Linked DNA regions of Homo sapiens: region 1 is linked to region 2. The links are contacts of gene promoters, found by promoter capture Hi-C in blood cells and fetal thymus (Javierre and others, 2016). All regions are on one chromosome and are shown on one strand. Each heading gives the region's core, a stretch centred on a gene start or on the middle of the fragment in contact. The rest is flanking DNA. Distances are from core to core; before and after follow the strand shown.

The links. Contacts are between HindIII fragments. The CHiCAGO score rates a contact against its expected background, and 5 or more counts as called.
Region 1: a fragment that was not itself captured here is called in contact with the fragment with the promoter of MPPE1 in region 2 in 1 of 17 cell types (neutrophils); the score reaches 6.2 in neutrophils.

What each region holds. Positions count from the first base shown.
Region 1 is chr18:9,127,781-9,134,316 of GRCh38, forward strand. It overlaps NDUFV2 (NADH:ubiquinone oxidoreductase core subunit V2), which reads left to right. Exons shown (of 8, transcript NM_021074.5): 8 at 6,406-6,536. The coding sequence ends at 6,499. It overlaps NDUFV2-AS1 (NDUFV2 antisense RNA 1), which reads right to left. Exons shown (of 3, transcript NR_110772.1): 2 at 5,611-5,730. Among named protein-coding and RNA genes, the nearest start is that of NDUFV2-AS1, 5.7 kb to the right of the region's middle. The HindIII fragment of the contact is 1,805 bases long and covers 935-2,739 here.
Region 2 is chr18:11,906,555-11,912,699 of GRCh38, forward strand. It overlaps MPPE1 (metallophosphoesterase 1), which reads right to left and starts at 1,763. Exons shown (of 11, transcript NM_023075.6): 1 at 1,647-1,763. It overlaps LOC101927511 (a long non-coding RNA gene), which reads right to left. Exons shown (of 4, transcript XR_007066296.1): 4 at 3,995-4,308. RefSeq lists a silencer at 2,156-2,555. The HindIII fragment of the contact is 5,797 bases long and covers 1-3,153 here.

The DNA.
Region 1 (6,536 bases), core at 587-3,086, 2.8 Mb before region 2:
TATTTTGAGATACATACTGAGCAGCACAGAGCATTGTGGGACTGCCTCCTTTGTTCCAGACATTATGCTTGTAATAATTGTGCCTAATTATATCAACTCCTACTTCAGAGACATTACACAATTAACTGCACTTCATAATACCTAGATCTTTTTCTGTTCACTATTTATCCAGGTTGCTCCCGTCCCATACCTGTGTTACATTAATTACTTTCCTTTCAGTTATGAACTTGGATTTTCACTTTTAAACAAACCCTTATTCCATGTATGTGTTCAATCACTCAAAATTCTCTCTTAATACTAGCAAATGTTCTCATGGTTTTAGTCATAATCCCTCAAATTTTTTGTTTATGTATATAAATTTTTTCTTCCCTCAGCACATTTGGAGTTTTTGATGTCCATACGGTATTCTAATGTTTTAAAACAGCTGTGATGTGCTCTTACTCCCGTTTTAAAATATTTTTCTTAAGCTTTATTATAAATAACAATTCCCTGAAGTAGAATTACTAAGAGGGTATGAGTGGTTCTAGAGTTTGCTCTCTAAAACTACTAATAATACCCTACTTAATGAGAAAATGAGGTCAGTTCAGGATAACTTAAGTTTAGTAAATGCTAGCTGGCCCCTGTTGACCATTACTTTCTTTTCTAAGAAACGTATACTGTTCTTAACAACCTGAGCCTATAGAATTGAATTTGCTTAAAGAGTGTTGGCATTTTCTTCCTAATTCCTCACTTTCTTGGGTATACCCCTTTTTTTAGGAGGTAAATCATTTCCCTGGTGAAAAATCATTCTCCTTTATGGAGGCAACTGAAGTAAAACCTTTAGTCATCTATCATTACAGTATCTTTCTTAGCTAGTGCTCCTATCCCTTACTTATTCTTGCTTTAAATAGACACTGTCCCCCCAAAAAGTACAAATTTCATAATATTTTCCACAAGCTTCATCTGCTTTTTAGGATTCAGGTATTTTAAAATAAATTCATGCTATTCTTAGGTTTGTACTTCAGCCCATAACTTCTTTCACCTTTTGGGTACTCTAAAGAATATCTCAAGTGCAGATTTCCTTGTGAAATCCACTTGGGTTCTTTAGATGGCCCCTCTCTTCTGATTAGATGTTTTGAATTCTATAGTCATAACTTTGGTGTTGGGCTTCCTCCCCCCCACTCCTCCCCTCACCCGAGATGGAGTCTTGCTCTGTCACTTAGGCTATAGTGCAGTGGTGTGATCTCGACTCACTGCAACTTCTGCCTCCCAGGCTCAAGCGATTCTCCTGCCTCAGTCTCCCGAGCAGCTGGGACTATAAGAACGTGCCACCACCATGCCCAGCTAATTTTTGTATTTTTAGTAGAGACGGGGTTTTACCATGTTGGCCAGGGTGGTCTCGAACTCCTGACCTCAAGTGATCTGCCTGCCTTGGCCTCCCAAAGTGCTGGGATTACAGGCTTGAGCCACCACGCCCGGCCACTTTGGCGTTTAGAATCTTCTGCTTTGCTTCTTGTGAACTGTGGGATCTATGGTTCATATTAATCTAGTATTACTCTCCTGCCACACAAATTGATACCTGCTTTGTCTACTTTGTTATGTCACATTACATTAAATACTCAACAGTAATTTTTTTCACAAATTTTTTTGAGTGCCTGCTGTGTGTCAGGCATTATTTTAGGTTATGAATACAATTATGAACAAGATAAAGTTCTCATATATCTTCTAGTGATGGAGACAGATGACTAGTGTAATATGTGAGTGATAAAAAGGCTACACAATAAAATGTAGCAGGTGTTAGGGGATAGATAGGGAGTAAATTTAGTGAGGAGAGGCCGCTTAGAGGTGGTAACATTTGAGCCATGACCTGAATGAAGAGCTAGAGGGAACCATGTAAAGAGCTGAAGGAACAATGTTCCAGGGAGGGGAAAGAGGATGTATCAGGGTCCTGGAAGAAAAGTAAGGTAACAGTATGGCTGCAGTGAGGTGCTCAAGCAAGAAAGCAGTGGAAGGGGTCAGAGGAGATAAGGGCCCAGATAAGTAATCTGGGCTGAATCTTAAATATAATAAAAACTGTTGGAATGTTTTCAGTAGGGAATGGAATGAGCAATCTTAAAATACTGCCATAGTTGCTATGTGGAGATTAGAATTTAGTAGATATGTGGGACTAAGGATTTATGAGTGATTTTCAGCTTTTTGGCTTGAGCATCTCTGAGGTTCCTTTACCGAAAATAGAGAAGATTTGTGGTAGGGCAAGTTTGGGGAAGAAAAGTCAAATTTTGTTTTAGACATAGTAAGTTTGAGATGCCTGTTAAGACATCCATGGTATGATGCTGATAGGTAGATACGAACCTGGAATATAGGGAATAGGTTAGGGCTGGAAACACAAATTGGGGATTCATCAGTTACTAAGGGTAGTATTTAAAGTTATAAATCTGGATGACATTATCGGGGTGAAATTAAAATCTGTTATTTGTAATATGAGGTACTATAACATTGTATTTTAACAATAAGCAGGAACTAAGTACTCAGTTAAGCATTTTCAACAACATCTGATAATAATAGGGATGTTACTTATCAGTAATCATGAATAGTTTTTCGCTGAGATTTTCTTGACAGTGTTCTGGATTTGAGCCAAATACTTCAAAATTATTCGTGTCCGAATCTCTTTTTTTACTTACTACCTCTTATTTAAAAAGCAGACAAAAGTCTACTTAGGTTTCAATAATTGCAAGCATCCACCAATGCTGTATTATATAAAGCTTGTATTTGGACATAGCAATACTAGAATGTCTTGTCAGCATATGAAAACAAGAACTTTTCACTTTACTTACCCAATATCTTGGATATATAGGATAATGACAGAGACTGGGATAGCAATAACCATAATATAGTTATAGTTATTCTAAATTAACCAAAGCTGTCTAATTCTTTTTTATTGGTATTTTAATAATAAATATCTCTGCTCTTTGAAAGAGGTACTAATTGTGCGTCTCTGTAATGAAAAACCGAGAGGAATTAAACTGGTTCAATAGTAACTGATTCCTGAGTACCACTGCCAGGTCTTACCCTGGCCAAAATTAGTAAAAGACTGATGTCTATATGTGGTTCAAAACTGCTTTTGTATTATCGTTGGTGAATGACCACTGAAAATATTAAAGCAGTGGTAAGATAATACAGTTGACTCTTGAACACCATGGGCGTTAGGGACATTGATTGCTCATGCAGTTGAAGATCTGTGTGTAACTTTTGACTCCTCCAAAACTTTACTCATAGCCTGCAGTTGTCTGAAGGCCTTAACAAATAACATAGTCAGCACATATTTTGCATGTTGTCTGTATTATATACTGACTGTATTCTTACCATAATCTAGAGAAAAGAAAATGTTATTAAAATCATAATGAAAATATATTTACTCTTCATTAAGTGGATCATAGTACAAGTCTTATCATTTTCATGTTGTATAGGCTGAGGAAGAGGAGGGGTTGGCCTTGCTGTCTCAGAGGTGGCAGAGGCTGAAGAAAATCCATGTACAAGTGAACCCATGCAGTTCAAACCTGTGTTGTTCAGGGTCAGCTGTAGTCTCTTAATCTTGACATTACTAAATATTTTTGTGCTGAGATTGTTCTTATTTTCAGTGAATTTAAAGTACTGAAAAATTCTAAACTTGTTTTCAGGTTACTAATAGGTAGAAATTTTTTAGTATGGATTAGTTTATAACTCATTTTAAATCCAACTTTAATTCTTCATATTTAGAGCTAGGCTACAGTTCCAATGCGGTTGGTAGATGACTCTAGACAATAACATCACTTTTGGTTTTTTATACTAAAAGTAGGGACAGTGCTGGATATATCTCAGCAATAGTAAAAAGCACTAAACTTTTATAAAGTAATTTGTCTATGTAAAGTACTTTAAGCCATGAAAGTTTACAGAAAGGCCAAGTTTTCTAGAAAGCAAATAAGTTAAAATGGTACACATACGTATAGTGTTGGAATGACTGACGAACCATACTTTTTAAATTTTAGTGAAGATGTAATTATTAGATGGCATTTTAAGCATGAGATATCAGGAAAATCATTTTTTGTTTAGTAAGTGAAAAACACTAGTGTAAATTGTGGCTGTCAGGTGAGTGGATAGGGCTAGCTCACTGCCTCTTGAGTGTTCTGAGGCATGTTTACAGATGAAAGGGGGGGTTACATTTTTAGTAGATTAAACAAAATTATAGGCTTTATTGGAGGATTTTTGTAGCCTTTGTAGTATTTTAAGGTACACTGTGTGAATGGCGAGGAAGGGAGGTTTACAGCCAGACATACTGGATCACTGGGACTCCCGTTTTTCTATACAATGCCATGGGATTGTAATTTTATGGAACAAACTTTAGGAAACTCTAGACCAGATTATTTTTAAAATTACTTCCATATATAAAATTCTATAATCCTGTGAAGAACTCAGGAAGTACTTACGATTAATTCTCCCATTTATTGTTCCGGAAACTTCAGTTTTTATAATCTTCCTAAATTGATCCTTTATGTTGATAAACAGTGTCGATATTAAGGAGCTCATTAATTTTGGAAGATCCATATCTATCCAAACTGGTAAGAGGCTTTAAGATAACAAATGCTCAGCTTTCAGGAGACGTCTAAAATGAAACTTTTAAATCATATTCCATTCTGATATTTGATCAAGAGAAAAGTTTTAGGCAGAAAAGAAGAGGTAGCTGAGCTTAAACCGTAAGAAGAAACCTAGTAAAGGTGAAGAAAGTTTCTCCAAAATAATTTCATTGACATTTAAAGAGCAGCAGTGGTGCCTATCAATAGGCAACATAAAAAATTACAGGCCGGGCACAGTGGCTCACCTGTAATCCCAGCACTTTGGGAGGTTGAGGCGGACAGATTGTTTGAGCCCACAAATTCAAGACCAGCCAGGGCAACATGGTGAGGTCTTGTCTCTACGAAAAATACAAAAATTAGCCAGGCATGGTGACGCACACCTGTAGTCCCAGCTACGTGGGAGGCTGAGGTGACAGAAGCACCTGAGCCTGGGAGGTTAAGACTGCAGTGAGCCATTATTGCATCACTGCATCCCAGCCTGGGTGACAAAGTGGGACCCTGTCTCAAAAATAATAAATAAATTTAAAAATTGCAAAATATAATACTGTTGTCTTTTTTTTAAAGTTAAGTATCATTTTGCTGCTTACTCTACAAGTTTCAGGCTCTTACAGTATACAATGACTGCTTTTTTATCTGTTTTTGTAGTGAACAAGACCTATAATCCAAAGATATTAACTAAGTTCTGACTTTGTAGATAATTGTTCATTACTTAGTAACTTGTATTATATGCTGTGACATCTTGAAAGATCTTATATTATGTGGTGTCACTTTCCTGGCTCCAATAAAAAATGATTCCCTAGGGCTCTAAAGAACAGACTTAAAGGATTGATGACACAATGTGAAGGGCAAAGCCAGAGGGGGTTGAAAAGATATAAACTGAACAAGTTCTTTCTTTAGGTAAATCTGTGGCAGGAACAGGTAAATTAGCAAAGCCAGGGAATAGTGGTGGAGGGGTGACATACAGTAAGTCTGAGCTGGGCTCTAGAAACAGAGGTCAGACAGGGCAGAGGTGAGCAATTACCTGGGAAAGCGTGTGTGGGGTTGACAGACAGGTTCTTCTCCCTCTATGCTGCCTGTCTTCATAAATTGCTCCATCAGGACTTGTTCTTGTTTGCTTCCTTTTGTGGCTGCTATGGCCATCCTGGTTTGGAAACTTTTTTCAGAAAATTACTACTACTAATATAGTCTTTATAATACATAAATACAAACTGATTTTGACTTCGCTGCTTCTAAGGGACATTGTCCCAAATCATATTTCCTCAAGGAATCCAGTTTCTATTTCCAAATACAATGTATAAGTGTGTGTATTCCCTCTATTCACTGTGACTGTGGATCTTGATCTAAATAAAATTCAACTCTAAAAAGAAATACAGTGCTCTAGTTTATTAAAACATGGTTTTTAAAAATGTTCTCTGGGGTTGGGTATTTTTGCCGTAGTTCTTTGCTTTGATTCTTGGGTAGATGCTGAATCTCCCAAATTTGGTTTCTCTAACTGTAAAATAAAGCCAGTATCACTTGTCTTGTGGCATCGTAAGGATTCAATGAGCTAGTGTATGCATACTGCTCAGTAAATAGGAACTATTATTAGGGCTACTTTTGTATTTTTTATGTTTATGGTGAAGTCTGATGTTTTTCCATATTTAAATTTAGGAAGAGAAAATCTTGCATCAGTTGAAATGTTTGAATTAAATAATCTATGCTAGTTCTTAGGGTAAAAATAGTTACTTAACTGGGCTCTTGTGAGGTAACCATTACAATTTAAGTAAAAATTTACAAATGTTAATCATTAATAGTTTAATATTACTTTTCATTTCAGGAGTGGACGCTTCTCTTGTGAGCCAGCTGGAGGTCTTACCTCTTTGACTGAACCACCCAAGGGACCTGGATTTGGTGTACAAGCAGGCCTTTAATTTATATTGAACTGTAAATATGTCACTAGAGAAATAA
Region 2 (6,145 bases), core at 513-3,012:
AGCCAAATATTTTATCTTTAGGCTGGGCGCAGTGGCTCATGCCTGTAATCCCAGCACTTTGAGAGGCCGAGGTGGGTGATCACCTGAGGTCGGGAGTTCAAGACCAGCCTGACCAACATGGAGAAACCCCGTCTCTACTAAAAATACAAAATCAGCCAGGGTAGTGGCACATGCCTGTAATCCCAGCTACTCGGGAGGCTGAGGCAGGAGAATCGCTTGAATGCGGGAGGCGGAGGTTGTAGTGAGCCGAGATCGCGCCATTGCACTCCAGCCTGGGCAACAAGAGCGAAACTCCGTCTCAAAAAAAAAAAAAAAAAATTTATCTTTGAACTTTTCAATTTGTATTTATTTATTTATTTATTTTTAGAGATAGGGTCTCACTCCACCGCCCATTGTAAATCAAAAATGAAATCCTAAGACCCCTCAACCATCTGCATGGACCCCACCAAGGGCATTCCAGAGTTAACCTTGTTTTAGGTTGTTTTAAGCAAAACTTGTTTAGGCCATGATGGGAAGTGGGGGTGGAACTTGACACATTTCATCCTCCTCCCTTTTAGAATTCAGGAAAAGCAGACCAGCATTTAACATGCTGGACACTTAACTTACCTGGAGGCTTCATCTGCATGATAAAACTTCAGTCTCCACAGCCTCTTATTGTAACCCAAACATTCCTTTCCATTGATAATAAATCTTTCAACCAAATGCCAATCAGAAAATTTTCAATCTACCTATAACCCGGAAACCCCCGACCCACCCACCTCCTCAGCTGTCATACCTTTATGGACCGAACCAATGTACATCTTAATCTTACATGTATTTGACTGATGACTCATGGCTCCCCTAAAATGCATAAAACCACACTGGGCCCCGACCACCTTGCGTACGCGTTCTCAGGGTCTCCAAATGGCTGTGTCACCAGCCATGGTCACTCATATTTGGCTCAGAATTAATCCCTTCAAATATTTTATAGAGTTTTGACTTTTTGTCAACCGCAGGCTGCGTCACAGCTCGCTGCAGCCCCAAACTCCTGCGCTGAAGCGATCCTTTCCCCCACAACTTCTCGAGTAGCAGGGACTTCAGGTGCGTGCCACTACACCTGGCTTTTTTTTTTTTTTTTTTTGGTACTTTTGTTGTTATGGTGGGGGCGGGGGACTTGCTATGTTGCCCAGGCTGGTCTCGCATCTCTGGGATCAAGCCATCCTCCCACTTCAGCGTCCCAGAGTGCTGGAATTACAGGCCTAAGCAACGGCACCCAGCCTATCTTTTAATTTTTAACTTCAAAGTTATCGTTAAAAATCTAATCCCCCCAAAATATGAAAAAAATACTTAATATGCACTGACCTGTAGTTTTTCTCTAATTCACTATCTTAAATATATTAATTGCAATCTCATCAACTGCGACTTGCATTTGAAATTTTCCACCTTAAACGGTATTTTTTGATAAGATGGATTTTTTAAAAAATCTACACCAGCAAACTAGAGTGAGAGACCCCTGCAAAGTAATACATGGGCCTTAAGTCACCGAGATTTTCCAGCAAATAATTTGCAGAATGCTGTTTTTCCTAGGTTAACTTGCAATCCTAACACGGAAGGAGGTTCCGTTTTTAGAAGTTTAAATGTTGTCACACGGGCGCAAGAATACATACAACAGCCATGCTTTCCAGCTCTGCGCACAACGCCAGGCAGATGGGGAGCACCGGGCGGTGCGGGAGCCCTTTCACCAGGGCAGGGTGGCTTCGGTGGCCGAGGGACCCGGGAACTGCAGCCGGAGCCGGCGCGCACCCAGCCAACTTCCTGTTTCCGCGGTAGCGCGCGGGCCTGTCACTGAAGCCCCGCCCCGGCGACCTCAGGCGGGCGGGGAAGACCGAGTCTTCCCGGAGCCGCTTCGTCCGCCCGGCGCCGGAGTCCCACGGCCGGTTTGCGGAAGCGGGTCGTCTGAAGGGGCCCGGCGGGTGGCTCCCGGGTCTCCGCGGCCTGTGATCCCCAGAGCGGACAACCGCAGCTGGGGCTCCGTGCGCAACTCGGAGTAAAGGCCGGAACCTACGCTCGGCGGCCGCGTCCCGGCCCCTAGCGCCCTCCGCGAAGTGCCTGGCAGGCTCGGCAGTCTGAGTGTCGCGTTACAGAGTCCCCTGGGCAGTCACCGCTGAAGGGCGGGGGACGCGGGAAAGGCATTTTGGGGACACAGGAGAGCTGCGAGGGCGAAGCACGGGCGAGCTGTCGTTAGGGCCCAGGAAAGGCCCGTTGCGGGGCGCACAGGCGGGCAGGGGAACTCGCGCCCCGCGCCGCGCGCCCGGCCTCCTGACGCCAGGGCCGGCTTCTGAGCACAGCCACCGCGGCGGCCGGGGGCGGCCACTGCTCCCCGCGAGCCCGCTTCCGCGCCCCAGAAGCCCCCAGAGCCCGCGTCCGAGCTCCAGGCCTTGGAGGAGCCAGGCGGGCAGCTGACAGCCCCGGAGCCGCTCCCGGGTTCCGCGCGCGGTGGCAGCCAGGCCGTGCCTCCCCGTTCCCCTCCCGCGCCGCGCTGCCCCTCCGGGACCCACCAGGCCTGGCTGCGCCTCTTTCCTCTCCTCCCCCGGAGCCTTGGAAAGTGCCCTCCAGAGATGTGCTTAGGAAGTGTGTGATGAATAAAGGAGACAATCAGGATAACTATAATATTTATTATGCACTTGCTTTTTTCTCACTGATGTTACTAATTTTAATGGTGTAGCGCGGCGCGTTCCAGTTTTCTAAGTGCTCTCACATCCGTTCAAAAAATCCTCAAAATAAGCCTGTATATTAAAAGCAGGAGCCATTATTTCATATTTCAAGAAGTAAACATGCTCAGAGTAATAATCCACATAGAGCCTTCCAACCAGTCAATTCTGGTACATTTTCACAAATCTATGAGTGTGGTTAATACACGGAGATGTGGTTTGAGGAATTATATAGGACACAGCCAGCAAAATGCCTGGTATACAATAAGTATGCGGTAAATGGTTATTATTATTAAGAATATTGTAATATCTTCAGATATGATCAGGTGAACAACTTTGACATAATCGAAACTGGGACAGCCTGATTCCATAAACACACTAATATGGCACCGTGGATTGTTTGCAGCCTCACCTCTAAAGTATTCTCTCTGACTAACAAAGAAAGGGAAACTAGAACCAGTTAAGCTTATAACACTAATCACAGGCTAAAGGAAATACAGGGGCCAAATGAACCCATTAGATTACACCACCAGGAAGTAATCTGCCAAATCCAGAATGTGGGAAATTCTACAAACCAAATGACCCAATTTCTTTTTTCAAAAATAAATGTTCAGAGGCTGAAGTGGGAGGATTGCTTAAGGCCAGAGTTCAAGGCTGTAGTGAGCTATGATCACAGCTGTGAATAGCCACTGCACTCCAGGCTGGGCAACACAGCTAGACCCCCCATGTCTTTAAAAAAAAGAGGGTGGGGGGACCTTGAGAGACACATTAGCCAAATGCAATTTGTGGACCTTGTTTGGGTCATGATTAAGACAAACAAACTTTTACATAAATAAATGGCATTTTTAAAAACATTGGCGGCCAGGCGCGGTGGTTCTTGCCTGTAATGCCAGCACTTTGGGAGGCCGAGGCGGGCAGATCAGGAGGTCAGGAGATCAAGACCATCCTGGCTAACACGGTGAAACCCCGTCTCTACTAAAAAAAAAAAAAAAAAAAAAAAAATTAGCCGGGTGTAGTGGCAGGTGCCTGTAGTCCCAGCTACTCGGGAGGTTGAGGCAGGAGAATGGTGTGAACCCGGGAGGCAGAGCTTGCAGTGAGCCCAGATCACGCCACTGCACTCCAGCCTGGGCGACAGAGTGAGACTCCATCTCAAAAAAAAAAAAAAAAATTGGGAAACTTAAACATGGACTGAATGTTAGGTGACATTAAATAACTTCAGGTAATTTTATTACGATAATACCATAGTGGCTATGATTTTTAAAGGCCTCAGAGAAACATATTAACATATTTACAGGCAAATTATATTATTTCTGGGATTTGCTTTAATAAAATTTAATAACAAATTCCTGGAGTTTTTTAGAGAACAAAGTGAGAGATAGGAGAAACAATATTGGCAAAGTGTTTAATGTTTAAGCAAGGAGATGGGTACATGGGCATTGTGCTAGGCCTAATTATGCCCCCCAAACATGCCCACATTCTAATCTTCAAACCTGTGAACAAGTTACCTGACATGGCAAAAGGGGCTTTGCAAGTATGCGATGAAGAACCTTGAGATGGGAGATGATCCTGGATTATCCCAGTGAGCCCAGTCTCATTGGGTCCTTCCGAGAACCTTTACCTGCAAATGAGAATTGGAAAGAGACGTAACACTGGAAGGAAGTTCAGAGAGATTCAACCTGACAAGGATGTGGCCGCTGGTGCTGACTCCGGAGATGGAGGAAGGGGCCACAAGCCCAGGAATGCCACAGGTGGCCTCTCAAGGTGGAAAAGGCAAGGAATGAATGATCCTGCAGATGCTCAGGTGTCCTGCCATCACCTGAGTTTTAGCCCAGTGAGCCCCGTGTGGGCTCCTGACCTACAGGACTTGTACGGTAGTAAATTTGGGTTGTTTTAGGTCACCAAAGTGGTAGTAATTTGTTACAGCAGCCATAGAAAACTAATACAAGCATTTGCTATATTTCTCTCTATGTTTTTGTAAGTTTAAGATTTTTTTCTGCTGGGTGCGGTGGCTTACGCCTGTAATCCCAGCACTTTGGGAGGCCAAGGAGGGCAGATCACAATGTCAGGAGTTCGAGATCAGCCTGGCCAATATGGTGAAACCACGGCTCTACTAAAAATACAGAAATTAGCCAGGAGCGGTGGCATGCGTCTGTATTCCCGGCTACTCGGGAGGCTGAGGCAGGAGAATCACTTGAACCCAGGAGGTGGAGGTTGCAGTGAGCCGAGATCGTGCCACTGCACTCCAGCCTGGGTGACGGAGTGAGATTCTGTCTAAAAAAAAAAAAAATTGTAATAAAATATTTATTAAGTCCATAAAACATAAACCTAAGAAATACATTTTTAAGGTAATTCATTTACACCTGAAGTGTAATCTGACCAACCATAGAATTATACCATGCATTTTAATTTCCAAAAGAATTATATGTCATAAATCCCTTTTTAAAAAGCATTGTTGAGTATGGTTAGTAAAATAATGTTAATTTTCAAAGTCACAGATATAATAAAGCATCACGGATATAATAAAGCATGGCATGACCTATTCCTGACTTTATTTATTTATTTATTTTTGAGACAGAGTCTTACTTTGTCACCCAGACTAGAGTGCAGTGGCTCATCTTGGCTCACTGCAACCTCTGCTTCCCGGGTTCAAGCCATGCTCCTGCCTCAGCTTCCTGAGTGGCCGGGATTACAGGCACCCGCCACCGCACCCAGCTAATTTTTGCATTTTTAATAGAGACAGGGTTTTGCCATGTTGGCCAGGCTGGTCTCGAACTCCTAACCTCAAGTGATCCGCCCACCTCGGCCTCCCAAAGTGCTGGGATTACAGGTCTGAGCCACCGCGCCTGGCCCCATTCCTAACTTTAGAATTAGTTTATCTATACCGATTGTTATCAAAATCTGCATATTGACATGACTTTTAAGATGCTGACATTTATAAAGGTAATTTTCCTTCTAGCATATATTAATTTCAGGAAACAGATAACACAATTAATAAAATATATAAAACAGAATCGTTAAAGAAAATAATCTTCCCAAATATGTAAAAGTAGAATAGTTTAAAAAACAGTACCGAATATTTTAATGTAATTTCTAATTTTCAATTAATGAATATTAGGCATTTTCTATTATATGGATAAATTACCCACATTTTGTCAAATTTGCTAAAACAGTCCGGGCGCGGTGGTGCACACCTGTAATCCTAGCACTTTGGGAGGCCAAGGCGGGCAGATCACTGGAGGTCAGGAGTTTGAGGCCAGCCTGGCCAACATGGTGAAACCCCATCTCTACAAAGAATACAAAAAAATTAGCCAGGCGTAGTGGTGGGCGCCTGTAATCCTAGCTGCTCCGGAGCCAGAGGAAGAGGCAGGAGAATCACTTGAACTCTGGAGGCAGAGGTTGCAGTGAGCTGATATCGCGCCATTGCACTCCAGCCTGGGCAACAAGAGTGAAATTCC